Regions from separate parts of the Homo sapiens genome. Here region 1 is linked to region 2. Evidence: promoter capture Hi-C in human tissues and cell types (Jung and others, 2019). All regions are on one chromosome and are shown on one strand. Each heading gives the region's core, a stretch centred on a gene start or on the middle of the fragment in contact. The rest is flanking DNA. Distances are from core to core; before and after follow the strand shown.

Region 1 (6,521 bases), core at 1,665-4,164, 140 kb before region 2:
GAAGCACACTGGGTGTGAAGGTGGCATTCTCATTAGTGGGGAAGGGTCTAGGATCACTGAAATCCTAGTGGAAACACTGAGTGGATGTGTCAAGTGAAGAATCAGTAATGTCTCAGTGTAACCATCACTTTAACTTAAATGAACGCAAAGACAACAAGCTAATTATTTTCTACTGAAATTCTTGTTTCCAGTGTGCATGTCAAAAATTTATAATAGTTACCATTGTTTGGGACCAGACTTTTTTTTCCTAAACATTATTATTTGTTGTTATAATTCAGCTTGGGTTTGAGTTGTTCGGGGATAAAATAAGAAAACAATATAAAGTGAATTAATCTAATGATCAAACCAACAACATGAAAGTTACAACATGAATGATCTAAGGAAACCCAGGTTGCAAAAGCTACCAGGGCCATTAATAGGTTTCTTATTAATTTTTTCCCCCACTCAGGAACTTCTGTGTTAGTTTATAACAGCAATTTGGATTCATAGCACTGGATGGTTTACAGAGTTCATTTCTGCACATTTTTATCTTAAGATCTTTAAACAATACTATGACTATGACCTAGAGAGTGCAGATTTTATCTCCAACATATAGAAAATAAACTGAGGCTTAGGGATACACTAAAGATAACCACTTAATGGTAGAGACTAGAACTTAACTCCAAATTCAATCTTCATTCTACTACTTTCTGCCTTCCTACTATGAATTCTAAATCAGATCTTCAAAAAATTTAAAGATGATAGCAGTCATATCCTTATATCGAGAATTTTAAACACCCAGTATGTCTAGTTTAAGTACCTATTCTGGGAGATAAGTGATCTTTAAATCACCCACTCTTTCACGCAACCCCATCTCAGAACTGAGAGTGAATTCAGGAATATTTTTCCAGCCTCGGAATAGAGAATCCTTTGGGAAAATAATTTTAATGGTTATGGATCACTAGCAAATCTTGACTGGTATTTTTTTTTTAAACCAAGCCATCTGGCAGTTGTGTCTTATTTCTTCCTGCTGTCAATGGCTGGACCCACACACATTCCAACCTCATACAAGAATGCCAATGTCTGCACATTTTCACTATGAACAGGCATTTTCAGTCAAAGCAGAGAGAAATGAGGCTCTGCCTGTCTGTGGCAATAACATTAATATTACCTCTGTACAGATGCTTTTAGAAGTATGAAGTTAAATGCAGAGCCCTGGAGATGCCTAGAAGCACACATGAGATAAGCACAGCCATTCACGGAAGACCTAAGAAACTGAGCATTTGCAGGACAAACTTTTCACCATGACAAAGTACAGCAATGTTGCGTATTCCAATATGAGACTGACAGCAGGAAATAATGACAATAAGATAAGTGTAAGATGCATTTATGATGCAGAGAGGTGGAAGATACATTTATATGTATGTATTTGGTCAGAATAAGCAAGGATATTATTAATTACCAATGTAAATTTAGCCTTGGGGAATAAAACAGCTGAAATCTGAAGGCAGCAAAGTCAGTCTGGCTACAGATAAGCTAAGAAGTGTAGATCTGAAATAAACATTCATTACAATCCCTTTGACAAGAAAAACTGTTATATTAGTGGATAGCATTTAGGAACTCAGAGGAGCAGAAGGTCAGCTTCACAACAAAAATGCCAACTGCTAAATGAATGTGCTGAGCAAAACTGGCCAGAGAGTGCCCTCACAAAGGCAGCGGTAGGGTGGGACTGGCCCCTGGGGATGCTGAAGAAAATGCTGGTGTCCAGTGGCTTATTGACCCATTTCACTCTCATTCTTTCAACTGCTGTTAAGTGAAAACAGGGTTACATGTGAGCATACACACCTGTGCATCTGTATACATGCATATTTATTTAATGCCAGCAGTCTCTTTCCTGTTTACCCTTCTAACTTCATAAACAAGAGGAGAACATTTTCTAGGCATTAAAAAAATCTGATAAAGCAGAACCACCCTAACTTATGGGAAAAGAAGAAAAGCATTTAGTCCATTGAGTCAAGCTCATGGAACCAGAAGTATGCTTGGAAATCGGCCATTAAGGATAAAGTTGAGCATTTGCAATCCAGGCACTAGATCTAAATACCTACAATTGTTTGTTCATGTCATGGACTAAATATGCAGGTTGTATTTTAACATTCATTTTGACCCCTGCATTGAATTCTGTAGATAACAAGGCTGTTTTCTATTTGTGGATCATGATAGTGGCCATCAGATGCTCTGCAATGGTGTACTTACCTAAAATGTGAGGCCATGGTCAGAATTATATAGTGTTCATCTTATTTTAAAGAGTTAAAAACTGTAGTTTTAGGAAATCAAGAGATTTTTAGGATTTTACGCATGTGCACTTGGTGAAGATTTCACTACTCTGTAATTCAGGTTTTGCTTTTTATTTTTCATGCAAATAGAACCAAGACACTATTCTCTCCACAATAAGGGAGTTAGAGACTGGAGCCCAGAAATGAGACCAAGCATAGGCTTGGTCTTGACTTTGTACCTTAGCCATGATCGGTTTATTGCATTTTATAGTTGGATCATTCCTTTATTCCATGACTGTGAAGTGTGAGGTGGAGACAACAGGATTAGTAACACATTAAGTGATTTATTCACTTCCATTAATTGCCAACTATATATGAGGAACTATGATAAGTATTAGGGATGCAGAGATGAATAAGACAAGGCCTCTGATTTAGAAGATCTCATAGTTAAATGAAGGAGGTAAATTAGCAGACAAATCATAATACAAATAGTCTAACTGAGACATGACTAAAATGTTCTGGAAATTTAGAGGAGAAAGAAACCCTGCCATTGTGAGAGGGCATTTGACTTGGGTCTTGAGTACTTTTTGAATATTTGTATTAATTCTCCCAGGAAAAATAAAGTGAGGAGCCTTCCAATCTCATGTGTCTCACAAGCCTTCTGCTAAAATGATTGAGATTTGCTTAAAGCTGGCTATATGCTACAGCAACTATATATATATTTTGTTTCTCAGTTTACAAAGTGCTTTCTAGCATGACTCTCACAAAATGCCCTTACCATGGGGATTATTCTCCCCATTTTACATGTGAGAATGCTGAGGCACTGAATGGGAAGTAACTTGCACCAGGGCCTGGATTCAAACATTGCAAATATTGGCTTTCTTCCAATTCCAAAAACTTAAATCTTTTTTCTTGTTTATATAAACAAAAAAGTGTATATATATATACACACACACACACTTTGGAGATACATATATACACACACACACACACACACACAACCTTGATTATAGAAATAACAAATTTCAACAGCATCATTTCATTAAGCTTCCCATTTAAAATGGATCCATTTCATTTATGCTTCTATTGAAGAGATGGATGTTCATCTGGTCCTGTTTCCTATTAGCTAAAAGGAACTTTGGAATTGCTCTGCTGGAAAAGCCCATGTTCCATCCAACCTAATATTGTGTTGACAACAGAGGCCTCAAGGGATTTGCCAGGGAAGGACATAGTTTTCCTCCCTGACATTAACCTTAAAGGTTAGGTGTACTCTCAGTAGCCATTTATGGCTCTGACATTCATAAATTTGGTCAAAACCTTTATGAATCCATTTATATTCCTTGCCTGTACCTCTTTTGTGATAATGAGCTCCATACGTTTATTATTTTCTTTGTAAAGTAATACTTCCTTTTATTGGTCCTTAACTCACCTCACTCAAGTTTCAAGGGGGTCCTCTACTTCCAGTGAGAAATTGAGGATTAGTAGAATAACTGTGCTGTGTTCAGTTTACAAATGATCTCCAAAATTCTCCGGGTTTATTTTATTTTTGTCTAAAGCAAGAATAAATAAACTGTACATTATATTTTTATTGTAGAGAGACCAATATTTTATTTAAAGATGAAGATTCTGCCTAGTGGCATATTTTTAGTATACTTTTTGATGCTGCTAAAATTTGCTCTAGAAAAATAACCTCATTTTGGTATTTGTAATACACATTTTGCATGTCGAAGGCAGCTCCAATCTGGCTATGGGGAAAGCTTGAGGTAATTTTTGTTGTCTTCTACAACCACTTTTGAAGAGTAAGTATATTGCATATTATGTATATTTGATAACTGATTATAATGGATGATTATAATGGATGTATGAGAGAATATCATGAAGTAGTAGAAGAATGCTGTCCTAGGTGTCAAAGACCTGGTGTTCTAAAACCATTTCTGGACTGTAGATTTCAAGCTTATGAGATTAGGGATTAAATTAGGTAATTTTCAAGATTACTTTGTACTTTAAAATTGTAAGTCCTTGATTTCCTTAGCCATTCACTTGGTGACTTTAACAGAACACAGCCAATCCTAGCTTCTCTAAGCCTCGGCAGCCATCTCCTGATTCTATCACGATTCATTTGCTCTCAGTACTATTGAAGGCTTGTAGATATTTCTTATTTCCCACTCCAGGGATCTCAGTAAATGAAAAAATTATAATTTCCTCACTCTACCCCCTTACACAGATAATTACCTTTCCTACAGATTTTTCTCAAGTGGTGGGTTTATTTTAGGCTCCCCAAGCTTTTCTTGTTTGGAGGTAGGGCTTAAAGGCCTCTTCTGGATCTCTTCTGTTCTAAGTGGTCACCCTTATATTTGATCAGTACCATCCTTTAGAACTCACTACAAACAAAAGTAAATATTCACCAAAGCCTCTTCATTTTCATCTTTCAATTTGCTCAGAATCTTGAGGCTGATGGCTTTCGTCCCAACTACATTTGTTTGTTGACTTGGGTTAAAATTTTTTTCAGCATTGGCCACTTACTAGTTTTGCCATGAGAAGTAGACATTTAATAAGAATTATTTTATTTGCATTTTTTTCAAATGGTGAGTACAGGGTTGCAAAGTTCTCAGCCATTTTTTTTTTTTTTTTTTTTTTTTTTGAGACGGAGTCTCGCTCTGTCTCCCAGGCTGGAGTGCAGTGGGGCAATCTCGGCTCACTGCAAGCTCTGCCTCCCGGGTTCATGCTATTCTCCTGCCTCAGCCTCCTGAGTAGCTGGGACTACAGGCGGCCACCACCATGCCCGGCTAATTTTCTGTATTTTTAGTAGAGATGGGGTTTCACTGTGTTAGCCAGGATGGTCTTGATCTCCTGACCTCGTGATCCGCCTGCCTCGGCCTCCCAAAGTGCTGGGATTACAGGCATGAGCCACCATGCCAGCAGTTCTCAGCCATTTGAATACAACATCACTCTGCTCATCAAACGAACACTCACTCCTTACACACCCGTTTATGACCAGGTCTCCGCTTGCTCTACCCAGACACAGTGACACTTCAAGCACACAGTTCATGGCGTGGTGAAAGCATGTGAACTTACAGGTTTAACAGTCACATCTGTAAAATGGAGCCAGTGATGCCCACATCATGGGATTGTGCTGGGCCCTAAATGAGGAATGCATGTCATACCTCGGACACATAGAGGAAATTTAGGTGTATGACTGTTGGCTTTTTTCCTGTTATTTTCTAGTTCTCTAATTAAGCCATCCAACAATTCAAATTGGAATAGACCACTGTATCAGAGGTGTATTAAAGCAATAGGACACTGACTCCCCGAAAAACATTGTTTATAAATAGAGAAACACTGTGGTCTGTGAAAACTGAAGTGAATTGAATGTGTCTTGTAAAGTTGACCAGGCTGATTGTCATTGTTTTGAGAAAAGTTTTTCCTGCTCACATTGGCTCTAGTTGTTATCAGATGCTGTGTTGCTATGCTGTTCATACTTTGCTGTGTGGCTGATATTAACCACAATGATCTGGGTCTTTCTCTTAGATAGCCTATTTTAGTAGGCTATAAAGCTTTATCTGTCCAGGTCTGAAATCAGGGCCCCTGCTCCTTAAATGATTTTCTCTGACAGTTGAGTAGCTCTCTCAGCCTCTTTGTGCTGTCAGAGAGTTACTGTCATGAGCGAGTTGATTTCTGCCACCTGCCCTGCAATAGTCCTTAAAGGAGTTTTTTTTTCTGTTTACCACCCAGTACTGCACCTCTATGTTCCCTTGATCCCACTAAGTAGAGGGATGAGGAGGCTGGAAATAAAACCAAAAAGGAATATAAATCCTGGAAATATTATTTGAAAATCCTAGTTGTAGATAGGGTAATGTTTAATAAAATGGCTCACTTTTGGTATCTCTAAAATTAAAAAAATTGTAACAATTTAAACATGTTAATCAGACAAAAATGAGTGACTTTATTTTAGAAGAGCAGGCTGTGTATTTATTCGTAAAGATACTTCATTAATCCTAGAGGATTAATAAAGTTGATTTTTAAAAGTTCAAATACTGCTTTGAAGTACCTAATAGAAGGTACTTGGTAGACATTGGAGACTATAATGATGAATAAAACAAAAGTTCTGTCTTTGTTTCATTTAAATATATAGCATCATTTTTAGCTTAGATTAATGCTTAATCTAGGTGGATTTTGAACGAATCACATTGTATCCTGGTGAATTTCTGATGAGAGTGCACAGGGAAGAGGGAATGGGTAAAACAGCTGCACTTACTTTCATAGTGACTT
Region 2 (6,692 bases), core at 3,233-5,732:
GTTGGGAAGGTTTGCATTACCCAAACCAGAAAACTGTCAAATATACTTAGTCACCCAAAATAACACGTGGAATTTAGAATCTCTGGAAAACACACTCATTTGACAAATTTATTTTTTCTAATATTGTATTCCAACCTTTTTGTTGAAGAATCCTCAAAAATCTATTCTGAAAGAAAACAATGTCCTTGGAGTTTTACTGATATAAACTAGCAAATTCATCCTTCTCTCTCTGTGTGTGTGTATGCGCGTGCCCGTCTGTGTTTACAAGAGCCTTCTGAGATTTGGATATTTAAACTATTGTCCCCTAGGACATGATGGAATTCACTTCTAATGACAGATCTGGATAGGCTGGGTAAATAAAAATGTATTGTATTTTTTCTTCAAGAGAACCACCTTAGGCAAAGAAGTAGCAGTGTCTTCAAGCAAGGAAAGAACAGCTATATCAGTCAAGAAAGGGGAATTTTCTGAGCAAAGATGCCTCAGTGGTAAATGCTTAATAGGGGCTTTGCACTTTAGGCTACTAAGTCTTCTCTGAATATGCCTAGATAGCACAATTTCCATTGTTAAAAATTTAACCACTAGGTTCCCCATTTGACCCCCTCATCCCTGTGCAGGCTTTCTTTTGATAAGATGTAATAGCTGGATCACCAATGAGGCAATCTTGGGAATGCAATCCATGTGCAGTGAAGCTAAAAACAGAAGAAACTAGGAATCTGACACCATGGAGTGTCATTCCTATTCTGTAGTTTGCTTGTTTGTTTGTTACTCACAGCTGAACCTAATGCTAATTAACAGAGTAACCAAATACAATATGGTACCTAATACAGAAATTTCAACATTAACAAAAGAAACACTTTCCCTGGAAGAAAAGATAATTTAACAAAAAAAAAAGGGCAACTTTTGAGGTGCTATTCCACCATAAAAAAATATGAGATCCTGTTATTTGCAACAACATGGATGGAACTGGAGGTAATTATGTTAAGTGAAATAAGCCAGGCACCGAAAGATAAACTTCACATGTTCTCACTTATTTGTGGGAGCTCAAAATTGAAACAATTGAACTCATGGAGAGAGAGAGTAGAAGAATGGTTACCAGAGGCTGGGAAAGGTAGTGAGGGGGTGGGGTTGGGAGTGGGGATGGTTAAAGGGTACAAAAATATAGTTAGAAAGAATGAATGAGATCTAGTATTTGATAGCATAACAGAGTGACTGCAGTCAATCATAATTTAATTCTACGTTTAAAAATAAGAGTATCAGTTGGATTGTCTATAACACAAAGGATAAATGCTTGACGTGATGGGTACCCCATTTACTCTGATGTGATAATTACACATTTTATGCCTATATCAAAATAATTAATGTATTCCATAAATACATACACCTACTATGTACCCACAAAAATTAAAAATAAAAAGATAACTTTAAAAAACAAATTAATATATTCAGAGATAATTGCAAAATATTACATTAATAAAAGAGTCTATAAAGAAGGAGCAATCAGAAAGCAAGAACGCTCAAAGACCAAGAATGTGACTCCTTCTATGTACAAGCAAATCAATTAAAGACTAAAAAGCAATATTGTCAAAAACTTACAGACTTTAGAATATAAAGGCAAAAAGGATAAAAATCTTTTTTAAAAAATCAAGGATAAAAAAGACAAATCTAGGGATCTGCATTCACTAAACAGAATCTTAAAGAAATAATAGAACAAATTCAAGACAAGGAAATTATAATTTAAAAAATAGAAGACAATTATCTAAATCTGAAGAAGGATGTGAGTACTCAGCTGAAGAGTTCTACCATAAAATTTGAGAACAAAAAGGATAAAGTAACCTAAAAATGCCTGTGTTGAGGGGAAAAACCAAGTCTACGACCATCATTATGACTATTAAAGGATAATCTGGTCTTTCAGGCACAGGTGAAATCGTGCATACCTGCTTTCTTAAAGTTGAGCATGGCTACTTCAGTTGTGGCCAACGAAATGTGAAAGTGATGGATACCCTTTTGGATGAAGCCTTTAAAGCTAATGTGCAGTTTACTCTCATGATCTCTCTGCTACAGACCAGCCATCCTCCAGGTGGCAAAGGTTCTCTCATATTGATTCTGCTGTGGCATAGCATGGAGCAAAACCCAAGGCTGACTTGTGATGGTGACATACGGTAATCAATCAATAAATTTTGTTGTTTTAGGCCACACAGATTTGTGGTTGTCAATTTGTGGTTGTCACTGCATATGGATCTTACTACTACATCACATACAAAGGAAGGACAATAAAATTGCCACTAGACTTCTCATCCCAAACACTGGATACTAGAAAACAGTGAAATAATACCTTCTAAATTCAGAGGGAAATGATTGTTAATCTAGAATGTGCAATCCTACCAAATGATTGTAGGCAAAATAAGGATATTGTCAGACATGAAAGAACTTAAAATTTTATCTCATATGTTCTTTCCTAAGATGTTACTTGGGGATGTGTTTAGTAAAACAAGAATGATTCAGAATAATTTTACTGTAGAAATTGATGATTGAGATATCAAAAACACTTTGAGAACAATTATGGGGAGCAGTTAAGATGGATTGGCTTCCATTAGAAAATTGTCTCTTGCTTCTTTAGGGAGCTGACCTAACCTAAAATCATTTCTCCAGAGCAAGACTGGAAGAGGAAACTTTAGAGGTTGTTATGTCAGTAATAGCATTCAAACTATCAGTTGTGTCACCTGACCTTCCCCCTAGAATTCTAGGTGGAGAAGATTGAGGAAGCAATGAGAAGAATTACACAAGGAAGAATCTGTTTGAAAAACCACTCTATTCTGTCATTCTGTTAATTCAAAAAATATTTTTGAGCACATACTGTATACTAATCCTTGCATACGGTACAAGGGAATTCAGAAAACAATAAAACAAAGTCTCTGCTTTCAAGGTACTCACAATCTTTCAGGCAAGTTTGGTTCCCATAAGCCAAACACCATGCAAAGTTATACTGATAAAATCAAGGTAGGTCTAAGAGAAAGGAGGCGAGAGGAGGAGAAATTAATTCTGTGTAGTGAAAGGAAGAGGTATTCTGGAATCCTCAAAACTTTCAGAAAGGCCTGAGTTTCTAGATAAAGTTGCAGCTGAATCTGGCATCCTTTGGTTTTCATCAGTTTCCTTTTTTGCTTAAGCCCGTTTGTGTTTTCTGTCACTTGCAAACAAAGTTCTCTAACTGAAGGAATTCTATGCTAAACAGAAGGAGAAAGAGAGTTAGTCAAAGAACTTCTAGTGAAAAAACAGCAAGTAGGAGAAGTAAGTCCAAAGAAGCAGGAAGGAACTACCTAGAAAGCCAACTAAGACAGCCTCCTGTGAGAAAGGAAGGTGCATGGAATTCACAAACAGACTCTAAGTCAGAAAAAGCAGCAAGGACTGGAAAAGAATTCACACAGGTCACAGTGGAGTGTGTTAAGGTGATGCTGAAACTGGAAAATAAACTCATGAGAATAGAATGAGAGTCTTACTGGTGTGGGGGATGGGGTGGAGCCCAATTACAGATAGTCACAGTGCTCATTGAATGTATAATGTAAACATACTTGGAAATAATTTAGTAATTTGTTACAGCAAATGAGATGTTAGAATGAAAGTGTGGTTATGGTTGATATGCTTGTACTCTAAATAGAATCGATTTATGGTTAATAGAATGATTCGTGTGAGCAATATCGCTGGCTCGTTCTCCTACAATGTGTGTCAGTAGACAAGGAACAATAGCCTAACTTTCCAGCACTTCTGTATTTTAGAAGTAACAAGTGGCAAGCCTCACTCTCTTGCCCCATATATATATGAGGGAATGAGCAAGGAATTTCACTTCCTTGCACTCATGTCTGAGAGAAGAGATGGAATGATGGGCCGAGATTAATACGATGATATTTATTTAGTGTAAATATAAAACCCTGAGTTTCAGGTAAAAATGCAAAACAAATAAGGACAGATGCAGGGAGATTCTCTGAAAGAGACCTTGAGTATTTAGCGAACCACAATTCAAAATTGAATTGTCTGTGGGGACATGACAGGAAAAGGCATTTGTGGTGGGTTCTGACTGCAAGAGAGGCTGAGGAAGAGGAGAATGAATGACTTAGCTAGATGGATAAATTGGCTTCAGGTCACGGGGATCATGAATGCCTAGCTCAGCGTTTTCCCATCAATCCTGTGGACAAAAGAGAAATGAAGAAAAAGCATTGAGAATGCAAGGCCACGAAAGAAATGAAAGTGGCAAATTCGAGCCTCTTGGGTTACGTGAAAATGCCTAAAAGCGAGCTAACTTCTGAAAGCAGCCCTGCTTGAAAAGCCTCAGCTATCTGGGGGCCCCGCCCGGCCGTCAGTAAGCTCCACCCCTCGCCAGACTCCGCCCCCAAGCCCGAAGAGTCTGGGAGCTGCCCCAATCCCGAGGCCCGGTTTAGCCTAACTCCACCCCCGGCCGTCATGCCTCGCCTCTCTGTTTCCGTGGAGACGCTCTCGGCGTCCCCTGTCTCCGCTCCGGCGGAGCCAGGCTTCGGAATCACTGAGAGAGGAGGGGGCAGCGCCAACGCCCAGCACCTGCCGCCGGTGGGGGACTGACTTCGGCGGAACGGAAAACTGGAGTTGTTTCCCTGGGCCAGTGCACCGAGGTTCGTGACGGCAGGGGCGAGGTTGGGACCGGACTTCCTCAGCTCCTTGGAGAGGCAGGCTGTTCTTCAGGCAGCCCCTTCCCTGACCCCTACAGCCAGCCCTTCCTCCATCAGTCTTTCTCAAGCTTCCTCAGTCCAGGCCCTCGCCACTTACCTCAATAAACGAATTGAAAGAGAAGTAGGGAAAGGCGCCAGTTCCTCTTGCTCCCCAGTTCACCTGACCCTCTGAGGGGAGTGAAAAACTAGGCATAGGATAAGTCCTTTAGTCCTGTTGAGAACTAGGTGGGAACAGAAAGGGAACTGAGATGCTCTCCGTTTTTGGCAAAGATAACTGTATCTCGTAAATTTGAGAGAACAAATGGTTATCCCTAATGTCACATTTGTATTGAAATACATCAATACATATACATATTTCAGATGTTTTGGCATTTCACTGATTTAGTGATTAGTTTCTCTCATAGGATCTATACTTGGGGATTTTCTTTAAAAGTTCATCTAAACTTAGATGGTAGGAAGTATTTGTTGTAAGAGTGAATCTTATTCCATGACTTGGAGCGGGGAGAGGAGTTACACTACTGAATGATTTTAAATTTTTCTTCTTTGCTATTATTCTTTGCTTCCTGATTTTCAGGCTGAAGTCTATAAGCCTGGAGAGACCATCAGCAGTAATCTGCAAATGTAAGTCACGTGAAATATGGCTTGCCTTCAAACTCATTTCCTGCTTGATTTTGTGATTTAGCCATCAATGTCAGCTGGTAGGAAATGTGTGTTTTCTATTTATTTTACTAAACAACCTATCTACCCATGAGAGAGTGCCAGAAGTGTCCAAAAATTATGATACCGAGAATAAACATTATTACTGACTCTTTATAAACTTAATTATGTTTTTTTTTTTACTTAGGGAGCATAATTAGTGATATTTCTTCTGTAGTTTTCATTAAACTTTCATAGTAAAAGAGCTTGGATAATATGAAAAGTTTTAATTCTTATGAATGATTTTTAGTAAAATCCTACTTGTTTTGAACTCGTGATGATGTATAATAAACTTGCTTACTGTGGTTTACTGGCTTTATTTCTCTAATCTCAGTTTTTACTCCAAAGTGACTGAACCCTGCAGACACTGGTCAGCCTCAGACATAGTCATTCTCCAAGTAGCCTCCATTTACATAGTAGTAGGTCTCCCTCCTTTGTGTTTCCTGATAAAGGCATCTCTGGGGATAGAGGGCAGGAGAGTTACTCTTTGAAGAATTTTACTTGGGGGCCAAAAATTTAAGCTCACACCATGGGACACATTCAGCCTGACCTAGCACTCTCAAACCTTTCATCCTGTATTTCTCCATTTTCATTTGTCTTTGCATGTGGGGGCCAAACTTAGAGATTGTAGCTGTGATACAAGAGCCAACCAGCAGATCAAAGAGTACACCAAATTTCTTCTGAATACCAACAGTGGAATGGCTTCAGGCGGCCTTTTGATCTTTGTCTCAGCACCCGATGATGCCACACTGTAGCACTGCCCACTTGCTAGCACTGGCGGAGGTTCCTGTGGGTCCTCCTAACAGGCTGATTCAGCCTGAGCTCCTGGGGCTAAGCTCATTTGGTAGCAGCCAAAGAGGTATCTTTCATTCTTCTTCTTTCTTACTCACCTGAACCTGAGCAATTTCCCTTCCTGCAGCCACACCATCTTGTGTGTTTTCCCCTGAGATGTTGATCTGGGAGAACCCTAAGGAGGTGCCATAACTAGTGGTGATATGCTCCATTTATGCTACAGGCCTGGGTCAGTCACCTCATAGCACTAGTCCCATTCTTCATTGTTGAGTCTAAATTGGAGCTCACATGGGAACTGAGAATGCTGTCTGACCAACACCAGGAAAATGATGCAACTCATATTAACAAAGACCAAAAGGCTTTCTTTACAGGTATTTAATTTAATGGAAGTACTGCAAACCCTGCTTGAACTTGTAAGGCATAAAAGATGGCAATTACTTAGATAAGAAACTAATTTGTTACAGGACCCCTTTAAATATTTGCTGCATTCAAAATATTAACTCTGTCATA

What was found. Contacts are between HindIII fragments. The study calls those that stand out against the background at their distance.
Region 1: a contact is called between a fragment that was not itself captured here and the fragment with the promoter of TTC29 in region 2, in 1 of the 25 tissues and cell types used here (H1 embryonic stem cells).

Annotation. Positions count from the first base shown.
Region 1 is chr4:147,080,595-147,087,115 of GRCh38, reverse strand. All of the region lies in intron 2 of LOC105377476 (a long non-coding RNA gene), which reads right to left. Among named protein-coding and RNA genes, the nearest start is that of TTC29, 140 kb to the right of the region's middle. The HindIII fragment of the contact is 4,512 bases long and covers 659-5,170 here.
Region 2 is chr4:146,943,654-146,950,345 of GRCh38, reverse strand. It overlaps TTC29 (tetratricopeptide repeat domain 29), which reads left to right and starts at 4,482. Exons shown (of 13, transcript NM_031956.4): 1 at 4,482-4,637; 2 at 5,269-5,315. TTC29-AS1 (TTC29 antisense RNA 1) reads right to left here. Exons shown (of 7, transcript NR_188447.1): 3 at 4,792-4,915. RefSeq lists a silencer at 4,350-4,489. The HindIII fragment of the contact is 11,756 bases long and covers 1-5,809 here.